Regions from separate parts of the Homo sapiens genome. Here regions 1, 2, 3, 4, 6 and 7 are each linked to region 5. The links are contacts of gene promoters, found by promoter capture Hi-C in blood cells and fetal thymus (Javierre and others, 2016). All regions are on one chromosome and are shown on one strand. The core of a region is centred on a gene start or on the middle of the fragment in contact, and the rest is flanking DNA. Distances in the headings are between cores, read along the strand shown.

Region 1 (2,700 bases), core at 135-2,634, 740 kb after region 5:
AAACAGGAGCATCCCTTGAGCCCAGGAATTTGAGACCAGCCTGGGCAACACAGCGAGACTCCATCTCTACCAAAAAATTAACAAAAAATATTAGCCACGTGCAGCAGCATGTGCCAGTAGAACTGCATTCAAAATAGCATCAAAAAGAATAAAACTCTTAGGAATAAATTTAACCAAAGAAGTGCAGGACTTTTTCACTGAAAACTGTAAAACATAGATAGAAATTAAAGAAGATCTAAATAAATGAAAAGACAACCCATGCTCATGGGAAATAATATTGTTAAGATGATAATACTCTCCAATTTGTCTATATATTCAACAAAATCAAAATCCCAGATGGCTTTCTGCAGAAATTGACAAGCTGCTATTATTCATATGGAAATGTAATGAACCCAAAACAGTTAAAAAAATCTCAAAACAGAAAACAAGTCAGAAACTCACACTTCTAATTTCAACACTGCCAAGTTACAGTAATTAAAACAGTATGGTACTAGAATAAAGGCAGACATGGAGATCAGTGGAATAGAATTCATAGACCAGAAACAAACCTTTACTTTTATGGTCAACTGATTTTCAATTAAAACAAAAAAGTGCCAAGACAATTCAAGGAGAAAGAACAATTTTTTCAACAAACAGTGTTGAAACAACTGGGTATCCACATCGAAAAGAATGAAGTTGTACCCCTACCTCACAGTGTGTAGAAAAATTAACTCCAAATGAATCACAGACCTAAATGTAAGAGCTAAAACTGTAACTCTTGGAAGAAAACATAGGAATAAATCTTTGTGACCTTGGTTTAGGCAATGATTTATTAGACATGACACCGAAAAGCACAAGAAACAAAAGAAAAAACAAATTGGACCTCATCAAAATTATTAAAAACATTTGTACTTCAATAAGAAAATGAAAAGAAAACCCAAAGAATGAGAGAAAATATCTGCAATCATACATCTTATAGGGGAACAGTATACAGAATTTTAAAGAACTCGTGATTCCACAATAAAACAGCAAATAACCCAATGAAAACGCAGCCAAATAAGCTGAATAAACATTTCTTCAAGAAGATACAGAAATGCCCAATAAGTACATGAAAAGATGCTCAATCTCATTAGGGAACTGCAAACCAAATCACAGTGAGGTAACACTTCATAACCATTAGGATGACTAAAAGTAAAAGACAGGCAATGGCAAGTGTTAGCAAGAATGTGGCAAAATTAGAATGTTCATTCCTTGCTGGTGAGACTGTAAAAGGTGCAACCACTTTGGAAAATTCTAACAGTTATCCAAAATGTAAACATACAGTTATTATGTGACCCAAAAATTCCACTGCTAGAGAAAGAAAAACTTAGGTCTACATAAAAATGCATATACAAATGTTCAACGCAGGCCAGGTGCGATGGCTCACGGATGTAATCCCAACACCTTGAGAAGCTGAGATGGGAGGATCTCTTGAGCCCAGCCAGGAGTTTGAGACCAGCCTGGGCAATATAATGAGACCGGATCTCAATTAAAAAAAAAAGTTCAAAGCAACATTATTCTTAACAGCCCAAAGGTGGAAATAATCCAAATGTCTATCAACTAATAAATGGATTTTTCAAATGCAGTATGTCCATGCAATAAAAAATTTATTCAAAATAAATAGGAATGAAGTACTGATACATGCAACAACATGTATAAACCTGGAAAACATTATTTTTAATGAAAGAAGCCAGTCACAAAATGACCACACTTTATATGAAATGTCCAGAATAGGCAAATCCATACACACCGAAAGTAGCTTAGTGGTTGCCAATGGATGAGGGAAGAGAGAATGGGGAGTGACTGACTAGTAATAGCTATGGGGTTTCTTTTTGGGGTCATGAAAATATTCTACAATTAGGAACATTTGTACAACTCTGTAAATATACTAGAAACCACTGGATTTTCCACTTTAAAAGGGTAGATTTTATTATCTATAAAACTGAATAACAACATTGCCAATGGGACTGCAAAATTATACAGATATAACCACTTTGGAAAAGTTTGTCAGTTTCTTATAGAGTTAAACATCAAATTACCATAGGTTCTGGCAATTACATACTTAGGCATTTATCTCAGAGAAATGAAAACTTATGTTCACACAAAAACCTGTACACAAATGTTTATAGCAGTTTTATTTGCAATAACCAAAACCTGAAAACAGCCTAGAGGTCCTTCAATAATAAATGTTAATCCAAACTCTGGTATATCCATTATATGGAACACTACTCAGCAATTAAAACAAAGAAACTATTGGCCAGGCACAGTGGCTCATGCCTGTAATCCTAACACTTTGAGAGGCCGAGGTGGGTGGATTGCATTGCCTGAGCTCAGGAGTTCAAGACCAGCCTGGGCAACACGGTGAAACCCTGTCTCTACTAAAATACAAAAGATTAGCCAGGCATGGCAGCAGGTGCCTGTAGTACCAGCTACTTGGGAGGCTGACGCAGGAGAATTGTTTGAACTGGGGAGGCGGAAAGTTGCAGTGAGCCGAGATCGCGCTATTGCACTCCAGCCTGGGCAAGAGAGTGAGACTCCAACTCAAAAAAAAAAAAAAAAAAGACAAAGAAACTACTGATATGCACAACAACTTCGATAAATCATGAGAGTTTTATGTTGTATTAAAAAAAAAAAAACTTCAGACCGGGCATGGTGGCTCACGCCTGTCATCCCAGCACTTTG
Region 2 (2,700 bases), core at 186-2,685, 800 kb after region 5:
GTGGAATATTCACAGCCACACAGGGGGCCCTAGAGGGGGCTCAGTGTGACAGCAGAAGTGAGAGGTGTGTGGGCAAAGGAGCAGTTCATTGAGACTTCAGTGGATCCAGTATAGAGGAAGAGCAACTGGCCACGTGGTTGGGGCAGAGGGCACTTTGAGAGAGGGTGGGATAAGGGGAGAGTTTCCAGAGATGAGGCCTGCGGGGGAAATGCAAGACCTCCCAAGGAATTAGCAAGTGGCTTGGTGTGTCTCATGGGGTGGGATTCTAGTCATCTGGATGGGGACAGCTGCCCTGGAGCAGCCCTGGGAGAGAGCTTAGGAAGGAGGCTCACCTGAGAGCAGCTGTGACTTCTGGAGCTGCACAGTTGATTCTTCCCAAGTGAGACACACAGAGGTTTTATTTTCATTGCCTTTTTCTCAGATTCTTGACTATGTTAACCTGGGGTAAGGGATGTGAGAGAAAGCAAGAACCCCCTTTTTAAGGGGCCTGCAGACCCCAAGCACAGAAATAAAGGAAAATCCTGAGTTCCTCTGAGGGCAATTCCAGGCACTTCGCAATCCCCAACAAGTAAATAAGTGACTTGTTAAGAAGACAACAGTAGGCTAAAACAATAGCTAAAGAGGTTAGAGTCCCAGAGATATTAGCTTTCCCTACAGAAACCAATGATAATCTCTTAGCTTATGTCCCTGAGTTGTCTTTCAGAGGCTTGGATCCCCACTGAGGACCCCACAGAAAGGATCCACTGACATATTCCCCCAGATAAAGGGGAAGTGAAGACTAAACTTTAAACGATTTTTGGTTCTAAGTTTCTTCCCAAGGGGTTTAGAGAAAGTCATTCCTCATAACCAGTTAACATTCTTCTACTGACCCCAAATGTTTAAACAAAGCTTCTCTATTTTAGTCAACTGCAAATCAGAAGATCTTTGAATCTACCTATGACCTGTAAGCCCCTGCTTCAAGATATCCCACCCTTTGGGGCCAAAAACAACATGTAACTTCTGTGTATTGATTTGTGATTTTGCCTGTAGCTTCTGCTTTCCTGAAATGTACTACTAGTTTTAAAAACCCTTATCTGCAAGCCACCGGGGAGTTCAGATTTTAAGCAGGAGCCCGCCAGATTCTCCTTGCTTGGTGCCCTGCAATAAATGCCTTCCTTTCTATTCACTGCAAAACCCTCAGTTTAGATATCTGGTTTTACTGCGCTGGGTGAGTGGACCCCAGTTAGATTCTATAACAAGCCCTGGGTGTTCTCAGGCAGCCAGGGGAGGAGGTAGTTACTGATTCTTCCCCAGTCTCTGGGGAGCATCAATCTTGCAGAAGGTGCTTCTAGGCAGAAGCCTGAGCAACAGCAGAACCTCCTGACTGATTCCCATAGGCTCAGCCTCAGGGCCTCCCAGCCCAGAGACCAGCCCACGGGTCACATTCCTTTCTCTTGCAGTGGGGTATGTGTGCATGTGCATGCATGTGCAAATGTGTGTGTGTGTGCATGTGTGTGCATGTCTTCACAAATTCATTCTGTACTACTCCTGCTTCTCTCCATCACTGTTGCCCATCTGCAGGCCGTGGCCTGTATTGCATGAGGAGGGCAGCTGTGAAATTTAGTTGGGGAGGATCCCTTCCCCTCCCCACCCTCTTAAATCCACTCAGAACTGGTGTTTCAGGGAGAGCCTTGGATTCCACAAGTCCAGTGCTTTAAAAGTGAGCCTCAGAAAGGGAGGGGAACAATTCTGTTCCTCCTGGCTGTGGCAGCTGAAAATACCTGGAAATAGATGTGCTTAGAGTCCTGAGAAGACAGGGTGGGGCCTCAAGCCCCAGACACTAGGGGGTCCTGGATCAGTGTTCCAGGCTGGAGGTGCTGGCCTCACAATGCCCCTACCTGCAACTCAGTGAGGAAAAGGGTTGCACACACACGCCCCCAACCTGCTTCCTCTCCCTTCCCTCAGTCTACAGCCTTGAGAACTAAGAGCTCACCTAAGCTTTCATCAGTCACTGCTGTATGTGTGCTCTTGTCTCTGTGTGTGTGATAGTGTTTGTAGATTTTCCCACCATACTTGGATGCTTGTATTTTTTACAGAAAAAAAAATATAGTCACTATCTGAAATATAAGACAATGAAAAGTACATAAAGTCAGCTCCTTGTCATTCATTCAGTGAATATTTATTGAGCACTAGGCCTTCCCAGATACTGGTACCGGGAGTATTGGTGTGAATACAGCAGCCACAGTGCCTGCCCTTAAGAAGCTGACATTCTAGTGAGGGAGACAGACACAAAACAAGTTAATGTGAAATTACCAAGCATGGCACATGCCTATGAAGAAAAGAATAAGGTTCTGGAAGAGAGAGGACCTCAGGGCATCTCCTAAATCCTTATCCATACCCATATCCTTACAATCAATCATGTTTTCCAATGGCTTATTTTAGTGATTTATACATCTTGGCTCAACATCAGAACCATCCGAGGAACTTTTATTTTCTGTACTATGGAAATCTATACCTCACCTGACCTCCTGAATCAGAATTTTCACCCAAGGAGCTATACATTTATGAAGCTCCACAGATTATCTTGAGACATGCAAGATTGAGGACCATTGGCCCATTTAGGAGGCTGTGCACACATGACTCCTGTTTTCTGTGGTGAAAATAGAGGCGAGCTCAACATTCCTGACCCAGCGTGTCTTTCAGATGGTTCCATAGTACCAC
Region 3 (2,700 bases), core at 22-2,521, 720 kb after region 5:
CACGAGGTCAGAAGTTCAAGACCAGCCTGGCCAAGATGGTGAAACCCCATCTCTACTAAAAATACAAAAAATTAGCCAGGCATGGTTGTGGGCACCTGTAATCCCAGCTACTCGGGAGACTGAGGCAGAGAATTGCTTGAACCCAGGAGGCAGAGGTTGCAGTGAGCAGAGATCACACCACTGTACTCTAGCCTGGGTGACAGAGTGAGACATTATCTCAAAAAAAAAAAAGAAGGAAGTTATCACTATTTGCAAATTATGAAATGAATTCATGGAAAAGTCAAGAAACCAACTGAAAAATTACTACCGTTAATAAGGAAGTCCAATAAAGGTGGCAAGGTACAAACTACAATACAGAAATCAAATTTAAAGCAGTAGCAAAAACCAATAAAATACCTACAAGAAACTTAAGTGTTGCAGGAAGTCAGGGACCCCGAACAGAGGGACGAGCTGGAGCCACCGCAGAGGAACATAAATTATGTAGATTTCATTTTAATATGGACATATATCAGTTCCCAAAATTAATACTTTTACAAGTTCTTTACTTCAATCTCTGAACATAAATTGTGAAGATTTCATTTTAATATGGACCTTTATCATTCCCCAAATAATACTTTTATAATTTCTTATGCCTGTCTTTACTCTCTTAATCCTGTTATCTTCATAAACTGAGAATGTACATCACCTCAGGACCACTATCGTGTTAAACTGTACAAATTGATTGTAAAATGTGTGTTTGAACAATATGAAATCAGTGCACCTTGAAAAAGAACAGAATAACAGCGATTTTCAGGGAACAAGGGAAAACAACCATAAGGTCTGATGGCCTTTGGGGTCAGGCAGAATACAGCCATATTTTTCTTCTTGCAGAGAGCCTATAAACGGACATGCAAGTAGGGAAGATATTGCTAAATTCTTTTCCCAGCAAGGAATATTAATAATTAATACCCTGGGGAAGGAATGCATTCCTGGGGGGAGGTCTATAAACGGCCACTCTGGGAGTGTCTGTCTTATGCGGTTGGGATAAGAACTGAAATACACCCTGGTCTCCTGCAGTACCCTCAGGTTTATTAGGGTGGGGAAAAAAAATCCACCCTGGTGAATTTGAGGTCAGACCAGTTCTCTGCTCTCCAACCCTGTTTTCTGTTGTTTAAGATGTTTATCAAGACAATATGTGCACAGCTGAACATAGACCCTTATCAGGAGTTTTTGATTTCGCCCTTTGCCTTGTGATCTTTGCTTTGCCCTTTGCCTTGTGATCTTTGCTTTGCCCTTTGCCTTGTGATCTTTATTGGCCTCAGAAGCATGTGATCTTTGTTCTCCTTTTTGCCCTTTGAAGCATGTGATCTTTGTGACCTACTCCCTGTTCGTACACCCCCTCCCCTTTTGAAGTCCTTAATAAAAACCTGCTGGTTTTGTGGCTCAGGTGGGCATCACGGTCCTACTGTTATGTGATGTCACCCCTGGAGGCCCAGCTGTAAAATTCCTCTCCTTGTACTCTTTCTCTTTATTTCTCAGCTGGCCGACACTTAGGGAAAATACAAAGAACCTACGTTGAAATATTGGGGGCGGGTTCCCCCAATACTTAAGAGACATGTAAAACCAAAGTACATGTTTTTAGAAGACTTCAAAAGAACATGAAAGAACAAACAGAAAGATATATACTAAGATTCTGGATGATCTGATCAGAAAAAAATGACCTCTCACTGCCTTGAGGCTGAGCATCTTTTCATAGGTTTGAAAATCATTTATATTTCCTTTTTTGAAAGCAGTTCCTCCATAATCGTTATTTTTGCAATAGTTATCTTTTTCCCCCTAGATTAAGTTCTGATGGTTCTTTATTAGAAAGATCAGCCTTGGTCTGTGACATGAGCCACAGTATTTTCCCTGGTTTTTCTGAATTTTAAATTTTGTGTATGTACATGTAATTTTTTGTAAGCGATGTGGTCTTGCTATGTCACCCAGGATGGACTGCAGCAGCTGTACACAGGCATGATCACAGCACACTGCAGCCCCAAACTCCTGGGCTCAAGTGATCTTCCTGCCACAGCCTCCCAAGTAACTGGGACTACAGACGTATGCCACCCTATCAGACTTATATATGTAATTTTGGCCATGCTGTTTTTCCCTTTATGTTTAGGTGAATTTACCAGCTTTATTCATACAGTTTCTATGTTATGAGTCATTCATTGGAAAGGACTTCCCAAATGTAATGCCTTTTTTCAGCCAGCAGCTGTGGTGCCTGAGACGCACACCCAGGCAGGTGAGCTTCTGAGTCCATGTTCTTAACCATTATGCGTAGCTCTCAAGTCAGAGAGACCTGCAGTTGCTTTCACCATTAGTTTAGTGTGAGTATCTAAGAAAATATGTAACTGTCTGGTGCTTCTGTACCATCTAATTTAAAAGACAGGATAATCATTAGTTATGTCATTCAAAACCTCAGAGACCAGGACTCTAGATTTATAAACCCATGAATTATAGGCACCTGACTGCACAACTAGGTAGTTAAAATCACTACCAGGAATTGATTAGTAACTCATTTCACTTGCTGTAAAGAGGGTGTCCTTGATATCAAGGCTCATTCCAATGGAACCGTAGGATAAATATTAGCCACACTGAACATTTCTGGGTGCCCACTGTGTGCTAGGCACTGTCCTAGCACCTGGTGTTATGAGCTGAACTGTGTCCCCCCCCACCAAA
Region 4 (2,700 bases), core at 107-2,606, 700 kb after region 5:
CCCTCATGCTATTCTCGTGATAATGAGTGAGTTCTAAGGAGATCTGATGGTTTTATAAGGGGCTTTCCCCCAACTTTGCTCTCATTCTGTTCCTTGCTGCCACCCTGTGAAGGACATGTTTGCTTCCCCTTCCTCCATGATTGTAAGTTTCCTGAGGCCTCCCCAGCCATGCTGAACTGGGTCAATTAAACCTCTTTCCTTCATAAATTACCCAGTTTCGAGTATGTCTTTATTAGCAGTATGAGAACAGACTGACACACATCTCATTTGTTTTATATTCTGCTGTTCCTTCCTTTATACCTTTTTTCATTTTCTCTAAATACATTTCAGAATTCCATTTTGACTTCTCTTGTTTTTTAGTTATCACCTCTTTGCATTTTTTTCTTTTCCAGTGTTTGTTCTAGGAATTATAATGTATATCTTTAACTTTGCAGTGTACTTAAAGCTAATTCTACCCCTTCATAAAATAAAGACCACAGTAAGCACACAGCTCCATCAACCTAGACTCATCCTTTATACACAGCAGTCATATATAAATGCCATATTGTAACATTATAATTTCTGCTTTAAACAGTCACAACTGTATATTTCTTAATGGAGTGGGGAAGACTTACATTTTTACCAATTGCAGTGCTCTTCATTCCTGAAGTTCTGAGTTTCAGCTGGTAACACTTTCCTTCAGCTTGAAGTATCTCCTTAAACATTTCTTGTAGTATAAAGATTTTCTTAGCTAGAAAGTATGTTTTCTTATTTGGCTACAGAATTCTGAGTTGATTTTTATTTTCCCAGTACTTTAAAGGTGTTTATAGCCTGCTGGCCTGCATTATTTCTGATAAGAAGTCAGGTCTGTCAAAGATCAGATGGTTGTAGATATGTGGCATTATTTCTGAGGGCTCTGTTCTGTTCCACTGATCTATATCTCTGTTTTGGTACCAGTACCATGCAGTTTTGGTTACTGTAGCCTTGTAGTATAGTTTGAAGTCAGGTAGCGTGATGCCTCCGGCTTTGTTCTTTTGGCTTAGGATTGACTCGGCAATGCGGGCTCTTTTTTGGTTCCATATGAACTTTAAAGTAGTTTTTTCCAATTCTGTGAAGAGAGTCATTGGTAGCTTGATGGGGATGGCATTGAATCTATAAATTACCTTGGGCAGTATGGCCATTTTCACGACATTGATTCTTTCTACCCATGAGCACGGAATGTTCTTCCATTTGTTTGTATCCTCTTTTATTTCATTGAGCAGTGGTTTGTAGTTCTCCTTGAAGAGGTCCTTCACGTCCCTTGTAAGTTTGGATTCCTAGGTATTTTATTCTCTTTGAAGCAATTGTGAATGGGAGTTCACTCATGATTTGGCTCTCTGTTTGTCTGTTATTGGTCTAGAAGAATGCTTGTGATTTTTGCAAATTGATTTTGTATCCTGAGACTTTGCTGAAGTTGCTTATCAGCTTAAGGAGATTTTGGGCTGAGATGATGGTGTTTTCTAGATATGCAATCATGTCATCTGCAAACAGAGACAATTTGACTTCCTCTTTTCCTAATTGAATACCCTTTATTTCCTTCTCCTGCCTGACTGCCCTGGCCAGAACTTCCAACACTATGTTGAATAGGAGTGGTGAGAGAGGGCATCCCTGTCTTGTGCCAGTTTTCGGGAAAGGATTCCCTATTTAATAAATGGTGCTGGGAAAACTGGCTAGCCATATGTAGAAAGCTGAAACTGGATCCCTTCCTTACACCTTATACACAAATTAATTCAAGATGGATTAAAGACTTAAATGTTAGACCTAAAACCATAAAAACCCTAGAAGAAAACCTAGGCAATACCATTCAGGACATAGGCATGGGGAAGGACTTCATGTCTACAACACCAAAAGCAATGGCAACAAAAGCCAAAATTGACAAATGGGATCTAATTAAACTAAAGAGCTTCTGCACAGCACAAGAAACTACCATCAGAGTGAACAGGCAACCTACAAAATGGGAGAAAATTTTCGCAACCTACCTCATCTGACAAAGGGCTAATATCCAGAATCTACAATGAACTCAAACAAATTTACAAGAAAAAAACAAACAACCCCATCAAAAAGTGGGTGAAGGATATGAACAGACACTTCTCAAAAGAAGACATTTATGCAGCCAAAAAACACATGAAAAAATGCTCACCATCACTGGCCATCAGAGAAATGCAAATCAAAACCATAATGAGATACCATCTCACACCAGTTAGAATGGTGATCATTAAAAAGTCAGGAAACAACAGGTGCTGGAGAGGATGTGGAGAAACAGGAACACTTTTACACTGTTGGTGGGAGTGTAAACTAGTTCAACCATTGTGGAAGTCAGTGTGGCGATTCCTCAGGGATCTAGAACTAGAAATACCATTTGACCCAGCCATCCCATTACTGGGTATATACCCAAAGGACTATAAATCATGCTGCTATAAAGACACACGCACACCTATGTTTACTGCGGCACTATTCACAATAGCAAAGACTTGGAACCAACCCAAATGTCCAACAATGATAGACTGGATTAAGAAAATGTGGCACATATCCACCATGGAATACTATGCAGCCATAAAAAATGAAGAGTTCATGTCCTTTGTAGGGACATGGATCAAACTGGAAACCATCATTCTCAGCAAACTATCGCAAGGACAAAAAACCAAACACCGCATGTTCTCACTCATAGGTGGGAACTGAACA
Region 5 (2,700 bases), core at 169-2,668:
TGACCCAAGTATGTATACTACCCCAACACTAGAACTGCTAAAGATCTTAAAACCTATGACACCTATATGTAATAAAGATGTAAAAGACACCACTTAATTAAAATGTATGCAGAATGTATCCTGAGGTATTACTCTAAAGCAACAATTACAACATATATTCAAAGCCTTCCATTTCAGTACATATAGATTTGAAAATTCATTTTATTATGCAATGATGGCATAAACTATTAAATCACACTGCTCTATACTCTTGTTTCAACGAAGACTAGGAAAAGGCAGATCAGGCCGAGCGCGGTGGCTCACACCTGTAATTCCAGCACTCTGGGAGGCCGAAGTGGGCGGATCACCTGAGGTCAGGAGTTCGAGACCAGTCTGGCCAACATGACAAAACCCCGTCTCTACTAAAAATACAAAAATTAGCCGGGCCTGGTGGCACGCGCCTGTAATCCCAGCTACTTGGGAGGCTGAGGCAGGAGAATCACTTGAACCTGGGAGGTGGAGGTTGCAGTGAGCCGAGATCACACCACTGCATTCCAACTGGGCAACAGGGTGAGCCTCTGACTCAAAAAAAAAAAAAAAAAGAAAAGAAAAGAAAAAGGCAGATCACACGGGTTAACATTTTTAAATGTAAACTAAAGCTTAACGTTTTTAACATTTCTGAAATGGTCTAATGTCTAAAACCTCAACGTTAATACTTGTGTGCTCACAGGAAACCAAACATTGTATTCAGTAGGAAAGAGGAGTTGAACAGCTTATCTAAGAAACCACTTGTTCTTCAATTAGCTTTCATCTTGCTCTGGTCTTTTATTTTGTTTGCACTGCAGTTTTCCTCATAAATAATAAAAAGATCACACGTATTCAGTCAGGTAAGAAAGATCCTCTCGCTCTTATTTTAAGGAGCAATCGTCCTCTACTCCCCAACCCATGTCAAGGAGAGTCCAAAGGAATGGGACCCCTACTCTGATCCAGGACACCTCTTGGCCTGACCCATCTTCGGTGCCGGTTGGCCTGACCCATCTTCGGTGCCGGAGGTTGACACCCGCCCACCTTGGGCCTCCTCGCCTCCCTCCCGTAGAGCCTTCAGCCTACAACTCGGACCCGCGCCCGCCGGAACCTACGGGGGCGCCCGCGCGGGAGCCACCCCGCCCCCAGCCCGCCGGCGCGCGGCCGACGCGCGAGCACGACCCGCCAACCCGACGGCCGCCGGGGCCTCGGCGCCGGTCCCACCCGGTCCCAGGCTACGCTCTGCGGAGAGCGCGGCATTCGAGACAGCGCACTCGGGCTTCTCCCGCACGGTCAGCGCTCGGGCGCCAGCAGCAGACGGAGGGGCAGAGCCGGGTCGGAGCGGAAAATCACGCAGCCCGGCCCGGGAACCGACCTGTGGAGACCGCCATCTTCTCCTGCAGCCCGACGCAGCCGCCCGCACGCACGCACGAACCGTCGCGCGTCACTTCCGGGAGCGCGCCGCCCTGCACGCGTCACAGCGGACTCCGCCCCCGGCGGGCGCGGGGCGACCCGAGGGACAGCGCGCACGTGGGCCGAGGGGTCGCGGGGCCTCGCTGCTGTTTCCGCAATTCCCTTGTGAATCCCGCTCTCAAAATGAAACGCTAAAGAATAAGTTCATGAGGGCCGGGCGCGGTGGCTCACGTCTGTAATCCCAGCACTTTGGGAGGCCGAGGCGATCGGATCACCCGAGGTCAGGAGTTCGAAACCAGCCTGGCCAACATGGCGAAACCCCGTCTCTACTAAAAATACAAAAATTAGCCGGACGTGGTGGCGCGCGCCTGTAATCCCAGCTATTTGGGAGGCTGAGGCACGAGAATCGTTTGAACCGGGGAGGCGGAGGGGCAATGAGCCGCGATTGCGCCACTGCACTCCAGCCTGGACAACAGAGCGAGACTCCGCCTCAAAAAAATAAATAAAAATAAGTGGGCATTGACAGATTTGCGTTGATAAACGATTCAAAAGAGTTGGACAATAAATTTGAACAGCTAGGGATGCTGAGGTGGGAGGGTCACGTGAGCCCAAGAGGTGAGGCTGCAGTGAGCAGAAATCGCTGCACTCCAGCCTGGGCAACAGAGGGAGACTCCATTTCAAAAAAAAAAAAGAAAGAAAGAAAAAGGAAAGTAATACAGGCTGGGCGCCGAAGCTCACTTCTGTAATCCTAACACTTTGGGAGGCTGAGGCAGGAGGATGGCTTGAACCCAAGACTTTGAGACCAGCTTGGACAACATAGTGATACCTAGTCTCTACATAAAACTGAAAAAAAAAAAAAAAAAAGATTTTTCACATCCCTTGTAGGTTGTATTCCTAGGTATTTTTATTCTCTTTGTAGCAATTGTGAATGGGAGTTCACTCATGATTTGGCTCTCTGTTTGTCTGTTATTAGTGTATAGGAATGCTTGTGATTTTTGCACATTGATTTTGTATCCTGAGACTTTGCTGAAGTTGCTTGTCAGCTTAAGAAGATTTGGGGCTGAGACTATGGGGTTTTCTAAATATACAATCATGTCATCTGCAAACAGAGACAATTTGACTTCCTCTTTTCCTAATTGAATACCCTTTATTTCTTTCTCTTGCCTGATTGCCCTGGCCAGAACTTCCAATACTATGTTGAATAGGAGTGGTGAGAGAGGGCATCTTTGTCTTGTGCCGGCTTTCAAAGGGAATGCTTTTGGCCGGGCATGGATCCCAGCACTT
Region 6 (2,700 bases), core at 51-2,550, 940 kb before region 5:
TTCTGCTGACACCAAAGAATCACCATCTTAATAGCTACCGTGGTCCTTTAAGTCTTTATACTGAAATTTTTGACTATATGTGAAAATGACCTACCAGGAATCAGAGTATCAAAATGTATTGTCACTGGCACTAATGGAAACAAGTGACCCCCACAAAATAATCAGAACTGAAGTGCCACAGTTATTAAAAATATTACCTCCTTCTTCTAGCTTTCAGACTAACAATAAAACATCATTTTTATTTGTAAACTGCTCCCATGCAAATATGTAATATATTAATCACCAGAAGAAGCAGTATTTGGAATTTAACACCATGCCATGTTCCTACAGAAGTTGCATAGTCATGAACATCACGTTATTTCCTTTCTCAAATGAGGAGGGGGAACATCCATCCTAGGGGCTCTTTCCTGCTGTGCTGATGAGGTATGAAGAGCACACACCTCAACCACAATACTGAGCTTTTCTGTGACCGCTTCCTGTGTGTGACAGGCCGTGGCCCCAGCTGCACATGCACTAAAGGTCCCTCCTGCTGCTGGGAGTGGCTGTGTTGTGGTTACTGCGGAAACTTCATTTTTCTCACTTCCCTAGGTTCAGGTAGAGCTGGCATTTAGTCCATCAGAAATAACATTTCAGCTTGGCAAAGCACAAAGGCCTTTTGTAAACTCTAACTTACTCAGGTTCCCAAAATATTTCAGTCCTTCCTTGTCAAATGCTTGTCAATGCTGAACAGAGACCCTGTAACAAGGGAGCAGGCCTGCTGTTCTACACTACAGCCATCACATGACAGACTGGAGGCCCAAGCCAGATATCCACTGAGGACAAAGTGAGGTCGTAGAGAGAAGGCCAAATGTGTGCAACCACAGCAAGCCTTGAACTCCAGCCCCTGGAGGTGAAAGACACCTTATCACTCATGAAGCTTATTCTGCCACCCCACAGTGACTTCTCTCCATGTTTTCAAGGACGTCTGGTGATAGAGGATATATGCTAGAATATTTTCAGATATATGATTTCACGGATATCCAAAACAATTGCATTCATGACACTTACCTTTTGAAATTTCAAATGTTTAGTGGCCAGTTGTCACTAGTCTTATATTATGAAGGGAAATAAGAATGATTAACGCCCAGAAAATTATTGAAGATGAAATCAGGGTGCCAGGTGAAAGTAAGTTAGTTTGACCCCTCGAATTAATTTTTTAGAGCTACGAAGAAGGATTTCCTCTCTCCATTTTCTATTCTATTTAAATTTAGATTTTTTTTTCTTCCCTAAAAAGTTATTTAAAATCCTCTTCATCTTTATGTTTTATTTCCTGGTTATTATTATTCATCTGAATTTGAAATAATTCCATTTCAATTTCCTATCTTCTTTTCAATTTTTGTTTTCCCTCCATAGTTGCATTGAATGCATTTTGGGAAACATCATTTTTTTTTTTTTTTGAGACGGGGTCTCGCTGTCACTCAGGCTGGAGTGCAGTGGTGCAATCGCGTCTGTCTTCTAGCTCCTTGGAAAAGCCACATTCCAAGGTATTGCCATTATTCAATCTGGCTCAGAGCTCCCTTCCTGAAAAACTCTATCCCAGGGCAATTGCTTAACATGGCAGCTGCCTAATGCAAACAGGAGCCTGACCAAAAATTTAAAAGAATGATCTGGAGAAGATGTCCAAAGGGGGATGTGAAAAGCTTGGCATATTCCTGGAGATCTAGAAGGCCAAGTGCATGTGCAGGAAAAACATGGAGGGTCCCAGCTATCTCTGGCTGACCTGGAGGCTCTGTGCAAGCTAAAAGTGGAAACTAACATGGAATTGTCTCAGCATTGAACGTGTGACCCAATGCACACACGCATGCACTCATACACATACACATGCACATGCACACATACATACACATGCACACACATACACATGTTCACATGCATATGCATGCACTCACACACATACTCTTGCACATGCACACACAGGTACACATGCACATGCACACACGCACATGCATACACATGCACACACACACACGCATGCACTCACACATGCACGTGAACACACTCATACACATGCACTCACACACAAATGCACATGCACACATGCACACATGCACATGCACACACATACAGCCTCTCAGAAAAGAGTAGAATTACTGGCGTGAGACACCTAAGGAAATCACTGATCAATCATTAACTAAAAACTAAGAGTTCAGTGCTCAACACACAACAGGGAATACAGACTTCAGGGAGTTAGTCTAGGAAAGTTAATAAAGAAAAATAATGATAGGAAAACAGCAATAACCACACAAATCCTGCAGGGTGGCAGGAGGAGATGGGGATCTGATTGCAATGTTGTTATCTTATGTTATCTAAAATATCTAGTTTTTACCAAAATATCTTAAGATGCCTAAGGAAATAGGAAACTATGGCTCATGTATAAGAAAAAATAGCAGTTGATAAAGACATAGAGGAACACGATCAACCAGCCTGAACTAACAGTCACCTCTGGAACATACCATCCAACAGCAGCAGAATACACACCCTTTTTAAGTACACATGGACTATCCCCCAGTGCAGACCATATCCTGGCATAAACCAAGTCTTAATAAATGGAAAGGGTTGAAATCATACAAACTATATGCTCTGACCACAAAGTTAAATGAGAAATCAATAACAACATAATTTGGGGAAACCACAAATATTAGGAAATCAAACAATAGATTT
Region 7 (2,700 bases), core at 190-2,689, 650 kb after region 5:
GGTTCCTTTGCATGCTCTGACACACAAAGGGGACCCAGGACTCCTAAACAAACAGGGCCCTTGACCCATGGTGCTTTCCAAAAAAGAGAAGTTCGAAGTTTGAAACTTTCATCGAATGTGCCAAGGTGGATATTATAAAACAACACTATACAAAATTTGTTAAAAAAAAACTTTTTTTTTTTTTTTTGAGACGGAGTCTCGCTCTGTCGCCCAGGCCGGACTGCGGACTGCAGTGGCGCAATCTCGGCTCACTGCAAGCTCCGCTTCCCGGGTTCACGCCATTCTCCTGCCTCAGCCTCCCGAGTAGCTGGGACTACAGGCGCCCGTAAAAAAAAACTTTTTTTTTTAACAATTTTTTTAACTGGTGGGAGGGAATCAGATCTCTGTGCTCAATCCTATAAACAGATGTCTCTGAAATCCTAGTCATGCTAGAGTTAGTGTCTTAACATGAAAACAAACTGTACAAAAATGTTAACTCCAATTGCCTCCACCTAGAGACTACCAGAAATTTATGTGATCACAGGTTATTTTATTAATAGAGAGAAAAATCAATTGAGATTTATTTGTGCTGCAATGGGTGGGAGGAGTATGTCTGTATATATGTATCCTACGTCCTAACTTCCTAAATGTAAATACCAATGGGCAGGACTAAAGCCCATAAAAGCAGAAAATGGACATAAAATGTTTAAAATTCTGCTACTGAAGTAATATAGGGATCAGATAATGCAATTGAACTGCAAAACAAATTTTAATGAGACAATCCAAGCCAATGCCATGCCATGTTTAGAAATAGCAACAGGGAGAAATGACATGGCTTGAGTTCATCATTTCTTCTTCACAAGATTGTTGTGGGAAAGCTGTAGAGAGATCTTAGCCTCAAACCTTAATCTTAAAATCTAGTGTTAGATCCTGTCTTCTGACACCTCAGGAAAACAGGCCAAACTCAGAAGTGAGTATACATTGTAAATTTATCATTTCTAACATAAGGTATTTGAGAAAAAAATAAGATAATCTCTCAATATTTATTTCTTTAAAAATTAAAAAAAATAAATGACCAGGCAAGGAGGCTCACATCTGTGATCCTAGCAACTCAGGAGGCTGAGGCGGTAGAATCACTTGTGCCCAGGAGTTTGAGACCAGCTGGGGCAACATAGTGAAACTCTATCTCTATAAAACTTTTTATAAAAATTAGCTACGGTGGTGTGCCATGTCTGTAGTCCCAGCTAATCAGGAGGCTGAGGCTAGAGGATTCCTTGAGCCCAGGAGGAGTTCAAGGCTGCAGTGAGCCATGATCACACCTGTGAACAGCCACTGCACTCCACTGTGGGCAACAGAGCGAGACCTAAAACAAATGAATATGCAAACAAAAATAAAAAATAAAATAGTCTGCCGAACAGTCATTTACTGGTTAACAGGTCTGGAAAACAAGGATGCTAATTCTCACCAGGTTGGAGAGGAAAGACTGCCAGAGTGAATGTAAACCACACATATATTCGTGACTACATGCAAGCCTGCTGAAATCACAGGTGAGTACTTCTTATTTAATGCTCTCCAGTATCATTTACTGACCTTCATGTGGCCTTAAACACTAGACGATTAACATGTATGAGATCTCCTTTCCTTTCTCCTTATATCCTCTCCATTTCCTTCCCTAATTTTTTTTCAGAACTCCAACTTCCACACTTCAAATTTCTTTCTTAAAAGTGAAAAACAAAACAAAAGCACATATTTATGGAAATGAGTACTATGCTCATTGTGCTTGCCTTCTTAGAAGTTCAATTCAATTGAAACAAAAGAACCAAAAATTATATGGTGAGGAAAATAAATGCTACCTTGCTCCATCATACCACAGAAAGAATGTAACCCATAACCAGAGTAAAACGATGGACGAAAAATAAGATAAATAAAGAAGTTTGATTTGAGCGAATTTCTTCTCTTGGCCATCTAAGCCCCTCCACTCCATCTTTTCTTCGGGCAGATATCCTAGAGCTAAGCCTGGTGGATGTCTCAAGTAACCACGAGACATACACTGAGCAGGGCAGAGTGCTGCCATCTCCCACGCAGGACAGATAAGCAGAGCGAGTTCTGACAGGTAGTTATGGCGTGGGTGTCGGGACATGGGAACCAGGTGGAATGATTTTCCTTTCTTCATACCAAATACCAAAGTGTGCCAAGGTCCAGAAATTTGGATGCCAGACTCTTAGTAAAAGATGAACAAGAAGCAGGCTAGCATAGAAATCTTATCTGTTCTCTTATAAGCCTAGCCAATAAATTCACACTCTTTCCCCTAATTTCCTACCTATTTAAGAAAATATGTTACACAAGCACTCAACTTAAACTGACTAGTAGAACACAATGGGATTCTTCTCTTATGATCTAATTCTAAGATTCCCTTGGTTGTTCTCATTCTGCCCCTTCCTGGCAAGTAATGCTAGGCAACTTTTTAATTTATTTGAGACACAGCCAAGTTACCCCATATGCAAAATAAACCCCATTTCAACAGGGTCATTGAGGAAACTGAGTGAGAAAATATGTGTAAAATAGATTCTGCAGCACCCCACATGGTAGGTAGGTGCTCACAGAACAGCAGCTTCATTTACTGTACGCATTTTAAAAACCAAAGTTCAGTATCCAAATTTTTCTAGGACTTTATGTTCATACTGGTCTTACTTTAGGTAACAGATGCAAACCACCCCCTAT

What was found. Contacts are between HindIII fragments. The CHiCAGO score rates a contact against its expected background, and 5 or more counts as called.
Region 1: a contact is called between a fragment that was not itself captured here and the fragment with the promoter of UBE2V2 in region 5, in 3 of 17 cell types (total CD8 T cells, fetal thymus and naive CD4 T cells). The highest score is 8.4, in total CD8 T cells.
Region 2: a contact is called between a fragment that was not itself captured here and the fragment with the promoter of UBE2V2 in region 5, in 1 of 17 cell types (monocytes). The highest score is 6.1, in monocytes.
Region 3: a contact is called between a fragment that was not itself captured here and the fragment with the promoter of UBE2V2 in region 5, in 1 of 17 cell types (neutrophils). The highest score is 9.4, in neutrophils.
Region 4: a contact is called between a fragment that was not itself captured here and the fragment with the promoter of UBE2V2 in region 5, in 1 of 17 cell types (neutrophils). The highest score is 6.4, in neutrophils.
Region 6: a contact is called between a fragment that was not itself captured here and the fragment with the promoter of UBE2V2 in region 5, in 3 of 17 cell types (total CD4 T cells, naive CD4 T cells and total CD8 T cells). The highest score is 8.4, in total CD4 T cells.
Region 7: a fragment that was not itself captured here is called in contact with the fragment with the promoter of UBE2V2 in region 5 in 1 of 17 cell types (monocytes); the score reaches 5.5 in monocytes.

The regions. Positions count from the first base shown.
Region 1 is chr8:47,266,009-47,268,708 of GRCh38, reverse strand. All of the region lies in intron 1 of SPIDR (scaffold protein involved in DNA repair), which reads right to left. Among named protein-coding and RNA genes, the nearest start is that of SPIDR, 6.4 kb to the right of the region's middle. The HindIII fragment of the contact is 3,553 bases long and covers 1-2,700 here.
Region 2 is chr8:47,205,043-47,207,742 of GRCh38, reverse strand. No RefSeq gene overlaps it. Among named protein-coding and RNA genes, the nearest start is that of SPIDR, 55 kb to the left of the region's middle. The HindIII fragment of the contact is 1,089 bases long and covers 891-1,979 here.
Region 3 is chr8:47,285,823-47,288,522 of GRCh38, reverse strand. The region is part of intron 3 of SPIDR (scaffold protein involved in DNA repair); the gene reads right to left. Among named protein-coding and RNA genes, the nearest start is that of SPIDR, 26 kb to the right of the region's middle. The HindIII fragment of the contact is 8,846 bases long and covers 1-2,700 here.
Region 4 is chr8:47,311,934-47,314,633 of GRCh38, reverse strand. The region is part of intron 5 of SPIDR (scaffold protein involved in DNA repair); the gene reads right to left. Among named protein-coding and RNA genes, the nearest start is that of SPIDR, 52 kb to the right of the region's middle. The HindIII fragment of the contact is 5,254 bases long and covers 1-2,700 here.
Region 5 is chr8:48,007,149-48,009,848 of GRCh38, reverse strand. It overlaps UBE2V2 (ubiquitin conjugating enzyme E2 V2), which reads right to left and starts at 1,418. Exons shown (of 4, transcript NM_003350.3): 1 at 1,379-1,418. The coding sequence starts at 1,394. RefSeq lists silencers at 1,023-1,222, 1,453-1,712. The HindIII fragment of the contact is 2,629 bases long and covers 641-2,700 here.
Region 6 is chr8:48,947,535-48,950,234 of GRCh38, reverse strand. No RefSeq gene overlaps it. Among named protein-coding and RNA genes, the nearest start is that of SNAI2, 27 kb to the right of the region's middle. The HindIII fragment of the contact is 763 bases long and covers 919-1,681 here.
Region 7 is chr8:47,356,740-47,359,439 of GRCh38, reverse strand. The region is part of intron 5 of SPIDR (scaffold protein involved in DNA repair); the gene reads right to left. It overlaps LOC107986940 (a long non-coding RNA gene), which reads left to right. Exons shown (of 3, transcript XR_001745888.3): 3 at 1,416-2,700. Among named protein-coding and RNA genes, the nearest start is that of SPIDR, 97 kb to the right of the region's middle. The HindIII fragment of the contact is 8,146 bases long and covers 1-2,700 here.